2 separate regions of the Homo sapiens genome follow, and region 1 is linked to region 2. Evidence: promoter capture Hi-C in 16 types of primary human blood cells and fetal thymus (Javierre and others, 2016). All regions are on one chromosome and are shown on one strand. Each heading gives the region's core, a stretch centred on a gene start or on the middle of the fragment in contact. The rest is flanking DNA. Distances are from core to core; before and after follow the strand shown. Region 1 holds the start of MAZ (MYC associated zinc finger protein). Region 2 holds the start of C16orf54 (chromosome 16 open reading frame 54).

Region 1 (3,010 bases), core at 104-2,603, 61 kb before region 2:
GTCGCGTCCCTCCCTCCCCACGGCCTAGCGGGCGGCCGAGGCCCCGTGCACACCGGGAGAAGCTCTTGCCACAGTGGGAGCAGTTGTAGGGCTTGTGCACAGCGCCGTCATGTGAGCGCACGTGGTAGCTCATGCGGTCCTTGCGCTTGAAGCGCTGCTGGCACACCGGGCACTGGTAGGGCTTCTCGTCCGAGTGCGACAGCTTGTGTCGGTTCAGGTGGTAGACGTCGCGGAAGGCCTTGCCACACATCTCGCAGGCATGGTTCTTCCGGATGCGCTTCCCCGAGGCGGTCGTGGTCACCACGCCACCGGCGGCCACTGCGGCAGCGCCGCCGCCGGCACCCGCCTCTCCCCCTCCCCCGCCGGCTCCGCTCAGCTGGGGCACGCTCAGGAGGCTCAGGGGCACCATGGTCGGCATCTTCATAGCACCCGAGGGGACCCGGCCGGCCTTGGCTCCCGTGTGGATGGCTTCGTGCCTCCGGAGATTGTAGCCGTTCTTGAACTCCTTGGCGCACAGAGCGCAGATGTAGGGCCCCTTGCTCTTTGTCTTCTTCTCCAAGGCAGACGCGACCGGGGCCACGGCGACCGTCGAGGTTGGGGCTACGACGGCGGTGGCCGCCGCCGCGGCGATAGTGGCGGCGGAGGCGGGGGGCGCGGCCTCGGCCGCGGGCGCCGACACTGGCGGGGGTGGCGGAGGGGGCGCCGGAGGCTGCTTCAGGGCCGCTGTGTCCACCGTAGAGGCGGCGGCAGGGGCCGGGGGCGCGGCAGCGACGGCGGCAGCAGCGGCGGCAGCGGCCGCAGCAGCCGCGGCGGACTCCTGGGCGGCGGCGAGCACCGGGAGCAAGTCCACCTGGAGGGGCTCGGCCGCCGGGGCCTGGGGCGTGGGCGGGGGCGCCGGCGCGGCCTGCGGAGACAAGGCGCCGAGTGGGCCGCGGGTGCGGGCGGGCGTCCCCCCCCAGCCCGGGCCGCCGCGGCCGGCCCTACTCACCTGGAATGGACTCTGGGCGCAGCCCTGGGAGGCAAAGAAGCGGGACTGGAGCTCAGCCCCGACCTGCAGGGGGTTCTGGGCGTGACCCTGAGGTGGCGGGAAGGAGTTCATGAGGCCGCCCACCCCCCGGGAGTCCAGGCCCAGCACGGGGAAGGGGGGGGCCAGCAGCGTGCAAGGAAACACCGGGAACATGGCCTCGGCCGCAGCGGGGCCCCCGGGGCTCAGCGGGGGCCGGGGGCGCGGGCCGCGCGGGGCCCGGGCTCGGGGCGCCGCCCCCGGCCGGCCGGGCTGGGCCGCGCCGAACGCATGGCCCGCGGGCCGCCCCGCCGCCCGCGCACCCCGGCCGGCGGGAGGGAGGAAAAGAGGGCGCCTTGCGGGCCGCGGAGCGCCGCGGCGACGGCGGCGGCGACGCCCCCTGGGTGGGGGCGGGAGGCCCCGCGGGGCCGGGGCCGGGGGCGGGGGCCCGGGCGGCGGCGGCGGCGGCGGCGGCGGTTGGAGCCTGGCGGGGCGGGGTGGGGGGAGCGAGGGAGCAGCCTCGGCCCCCGCCGCGCGCGCGCCCAGCCGGCGCCTCGGGGAGGGCGGGGGAGGGCGCGAGGGAGGGAGGGGGACAGCTGCGCGCGCACCGGGCGCGCGGAGGGGGGGTGGGACGGGAGGGAGGGCGGGCAGGAGGGGGTGTGGGCAGGGGGGTGGGGGCGGGGGGAGGGAGTTGTTACCTGGAAGATGAAGCTGCTCCAGTTGCTGGGATCCATGGCGGAGGGAGGGAGGGAGGTGGCTCGCGCTCACCCTGGGGCGGGAGGAGGAGGCGGCGGCGGTGGGGGAGGGGGAACCCGGGAGGAGGCGCGCGGGGCGGGCAGGAGGGGGGAGGTGGAGGGTGGGGGAAGCGGAGCACACTACGCGCGGGGAGGGCGGGCGGGGGGCGCGAGGACACACAAGAGGCTGGAGCGGGCGCGAGCGCTAGCGCGAGCGCGCGCGTGGCCAGCGGGAGGGGCAGGCGCGAGAGGGACTCTGGCGGGAGGAGGGACGGGGGAGCCACCCAGCAGCCCGAGTCGCCCCGAGCGCGAGACCCCTGAGACGGCTGCTGATTGGCTGACGATGGCGCAGGTGGTGGGCGCGCGGGAGACAGGGCGGCTTCTCTCCTCTTCCCCCCGCCAACGATTCCACTCCCCCTCCCTCCGCCAGCGGCCGTTATTTCGCGCGCACGCGCACAAGGCCGCCGTCGTTGCCGAGCGGGAGAATGGGGGAGCGCGCGCGCCGGGGGCACGGACGGGGCGGGGCTAATCCCTGAGCGCGCGCCCGCCTAACGGTCGCAGGCCTCATGCTTCGGCTTCCGCTTTTTGCGTCCTGCAGGCCACCGTCCTCCCCGCCCCACCCCAGCGGTGTATTTACAATCCTGCGCTGAGTCGTTCCCCGAAGATGGCGCCCAGTGGAGTCGCCTGCCTTGCTCGCGGCCCACCCCGAGGCGGTCACACCCCGGTCCCGCCCCCGCAGCCCCAAAAATCAGGCGGAAGCACCGGAGCAAAAACTGTATTTACACAACACGGGGTTATACAAAAATTTGAAAAGGCGGAGTGAGGAGACGACGGTCAGGAGGCGCCACAGCGCTGGCCGGCGGCGAGACCCAGGATGTTTGCCTGCAACACAGGAGGGAGGGAGACAGCGACGTTAGAGAGGGGCGCGGGGCGCAGGACAGGCAGAGGAGGGGCAGGGCCGTGACTTCACCTTCAGGAAGGACTCCATCTGTTTCCCCGTTATGCCCTCCACGCGTTCCAGGTCCTCCACCTGGCGGGACAGGATCGATAGGGGACAGGGTCTCGGGGGTACCCGGTCTCCCCCGCCCCCGCCCTCCCCCAGTCCAGTGGGCTGCTACCTGGCTGAAGGGGCCGTGGAGCTCCCGCCAGCCCACGATTAGCTGGGCCTTCTTCGGGCCAATGCGCTGAAGACTGCGGAGATCTCGGGCTGAGCCTTCGTTCAGCAGATCCAGTATTTTTTGGCGCCCATGAGCCAGTAGCTCCGGGCTGATCT
Region 2 (3,009 bases), core at 172-2,671:
CCATGTTGGCCAGGCTGCTCCCAAACTCCTGACCTCAGGTGATCCACCCGCCTCGGTCTCCCAAAGTGCTGGGATTACAGGCATGAGCCACCTCGCCCAGCCCAGGGATTTCTATCTATTCTTCCACCACCCTGGCCACTACATGCTCACCCACACATACATTGGTCATGCGACTTTGGTCATGAAATCTCTTTTCTTTAAGCCTTACTTTTGTCATCTGTGGATGAGTCAAACTAGAGAATCTCAGAAAGTCACCTGGACTCCAGAGCCTGATGACATCTTGTCACACTCTGCTCCAGGCTCCTCCCACCCTCAGCAGCAGGAAAGAGGGACAGACATGAGGATGGTCAGGGTTTTGGAAACAGGCCCACGCCTGTTTTTATACCCTGGACTCCTCTCAGAGGCTTGACATTTTTGTTACCCAAGCCTCACCTCACTGATATTTTCCAACCAAAATGGGGGCTAAATGGTCTGAAGAGAGAGAGACTTATGTTAATTAAAAGTATGAGGCAGGGGCCAGTGTGGTAGCTCACACCTGTAATCCCAGCACTTTGGGAGGCTGAGGCAGGAGGATCTCTTGAGGCCAGGAGCTTGAGACCAGCCTGGGCAACATAGCAAGAGCCCATCTCTACCAGAAAAAAAAAAAAAAGGTGTGAAGCAAGCTGGCCAAGCAGGGGGTGCCTGTGGGGGCTGCATGGCAGGAGCAGATCTGGGGAGGCACCGTGGATAAGACAAGGCAGGATGGGGTGGGGCATCCTCCCAGGAGGAACGGGGGAGGCACCATGGTTCTCTGGGAATGTACGGGCTAAAGTCCCAGTGTCCTATTTCTTTTTCTTTTCTTTTCTTTTCTTTTTTTTTAAGACGGAGTCTCACTCTGTTGCCCAGGCTGGAGTGTGGTGGCACGATCTCAGCTCACTGCAACCTCCGAGTCCCGGGTTCAAGCGATTCTCCCTGCCTCAGCCGCCTGAGCAGCTGAGATTACAAGTGCCCGTCACCATGCCCAGCTAATTTTTGTATTTTTCAGTAGAGATGGGGTTTCGCCATGTTGGCAGGCTGGTCTCGAACTCCTGACCTCAGGTGACTTGCCCACCTTGACCTCCCAAAATGCTGGGATTACAGGGGTGAGCCACTGTGCCTGGCCCCGGCGTCCTCTTTCTCAGCTTTTCGGTGAATGTTCTGGGGCTCAGGGCCTGGCTATGGGGTGACACTAAGTTCAACAGAACCATTGCCCATTCCAGCCCCACCTTACCCCAGGAAAAGCCTCCTCACCGCAGTGACCACATCCCCTTGGGTTGCTTTGGAAACAAACACTCCCCAGGGGCAGACGAGTTGGGGCACAGTTGCCCAGCAACAGGCGGTGCCCTCCCTTCCGCCTTCATCCGAGGCCGGGCCTCTACGTCTGAGAGGCGGACCGCCCTGCACCCTCCAAGCCTGCACCTCTTAGTCCAGCACCAGGAAGAGTGGCTCTAGGAGGGAGAGGAGCCCAGGGACTGACCCAAGGTGAGTTGAGGGGTGCAGGAGGCCCCCTGCAGATGGAGGATGTGGGGGACAGAGAGGTGTGCAGAGACAAACGAGAGATAGAGACAGGCCAGAGCCTGGGCAAAGCTGGGGAGCCCAGGAGGGGTGCAGAGGCGCCTCCGGAGGCCTGGCCCGGCCCGGCCCGGCAGCAGATTCCGTGGAGCCTATGAGAGCAAGATCAAGTCCGAGGAGAATGGTGAGGGGCGAAGGAGCCTCAAGGGGCCAGCGGAGGTGCTGGCGGCAGGCGGTGGGGGAGACACACGCAGGGGAGCCAGTGGGAGGGGAGGTTCTCATTTCTTCACCCACCACTTCCTCTCTAGGTCTGAGCAAGACTTGAGGGGGCCGAGTGGGGAGGAAAGAAGCCCTTGAGACCTTTCTTGTCTGAGGCACCCTGGGGTCTGGGAGGGAAATGGGGATTCTGGAAAGGCCTGGAGAGCCAGGCAGGAGGGCCTGGCTGTGCCCCGAGGTAGGCTGCCTGTCCTCCCACCCCACCTGGCTCACGCTTACCCTTTCTGGTCCCTCTTGCTTCTCTGTCTCTCCAGAATGTTCTTTTTCATTTTTGAGAAAGGGTCTTGCTCTATTGCCCAGGCTGGAGGACAGTGGTGCAATCTGGGGTCACTGCAGCTTCAAACTCCTGGGCTCAAGTAATCCTCCCACCTCAGCTTCCTGTGTAGCTGGGACTACAGGTGTGAGCCACCACACCCAGCTAGTTTTTAAATTATTTTTAGAGATGAGGTTTCACTGTGTGTCCAGGCTGGTCTTGAACTCCTGGGCTCAAGTGATCCTCCCGCCTCGACCTCTCAAAGTGCTGGGATTCCAGGCATGAGCCCCCATGCCCAGCCCTTCTCCCAGGCTTTCCTGGACACCTGCTGCCTCTCTCTCATCTTGGTTGTGCCCCCTCTGCCTCATTTACTTCCTCTTCTCACCCCTGTGTCTCTCAGATGCCGTTGACTCCAGAGCCGCCCTCTGGGCGCGTGGAGGGGCCCCCCGCATGGGAAGCAGCCCCATGGCCCTCACTGCCCTGTGGGCCCTGCATCCCCATCATGCTGGTCCTGGCCACCCTGGCTGCGCTCTTCATCCTCACCACCGCTGTGTTGGCTGAACGCCTGTTCCGCCGTGCTCTCCGCCCAGACCCCAGCCACCGTGCACCCACCCTGGTGTGGCGCCCAGGAGGAGAGCTGTGGATTGAGCCCATGGGCACCGCCCGAGAGCGCTCTGAGGACTGGTATGGCTCTGCGGTCCCCCTGCTGACAGATCGGGCCCCTGAGCCTCCCACCCAGGTGGGCACTTTGGAGGCCCGAGCAACAGCCCCACCTGCCCCCTCAGCCCCAAATTCTGCTCCCAGCAACTTGGGCCCCCAGACCGTACTGGAGGTCCCAGCCCGGAGCACCTTCTGGGGGCCCCAGCCCTGGGAGGGGAGGCCCCCCGCCACAGGCCTGGTGAGCTGGGCTGAACCCGAGCAGAGGCCAGAGGCCAGCGTCCAGTTTGGGA

Evidence for each region. Contacts are between HindIII fragments. The CHiCAGO score rates a contact against its expected background, and 5 or more counts as called.
Region 1: a contact is called between the fragment with the promoter of MAZ here and the fragment with the promoter of C16orf54 in region 2, in 4 of 17 cell types (naive CD4 T cells, M0 macrophages, M2 macrophages and 1 more). The highest score is 6.1, in naive CD4 T cells.

The regions. Positions count from the first base shown.
Region 1 is chr16:29,804,872-29,807,881 of GRCh38, reverse strand. It overlaps MAZ (MYC associated zinc finger protein), which reads right to left and starts at 1,353. Exons shown (of 5, transcript NM_002383.4): 1 at 989-1,353; 2 at 54-904. The coding sequence starts at 1,180. KIF22 (kinesin family member 22) reads right to left here. Exons shown (of 14, transcript NM_007317.3): 12 at 2,856-3,010; 13 at 2,708-2,767; 14 at 2,498-2,619. The coding sequence ends at 2,572. RefSeq lists silencers at 1-552, 1,453-1,592, 1,723-2,062, 2,803-2,852 and an enhancer at 2,373-2,422. The HindIII fragment of the contact is 3,714 bases long and covers 1-3,010 here.
Region 2 is chr16:29,744,402-29,747,410 of GRCh38, reverse strand. C16orf54 (chromosome 16 open reading frame 54) reads left to right here and starts at 1,421. Exons shown (of 2, transcript NM_175900.4): 1 at 1,421-1,500; 2 at 2,460-3,009. The coding sequence starts at 2,460. LOC124903673 (a long non-coding RNA gene) reads right to left here and starts at 2,164. Exons shown (of 2, transcript XR_007065046.1): 1 at 2,026-2,164. RefSeq lists enhancers at 485-554, 1,082-1,131. The HindIII fragment of the contact is 10,190 bases long and covers 1-3,009 here.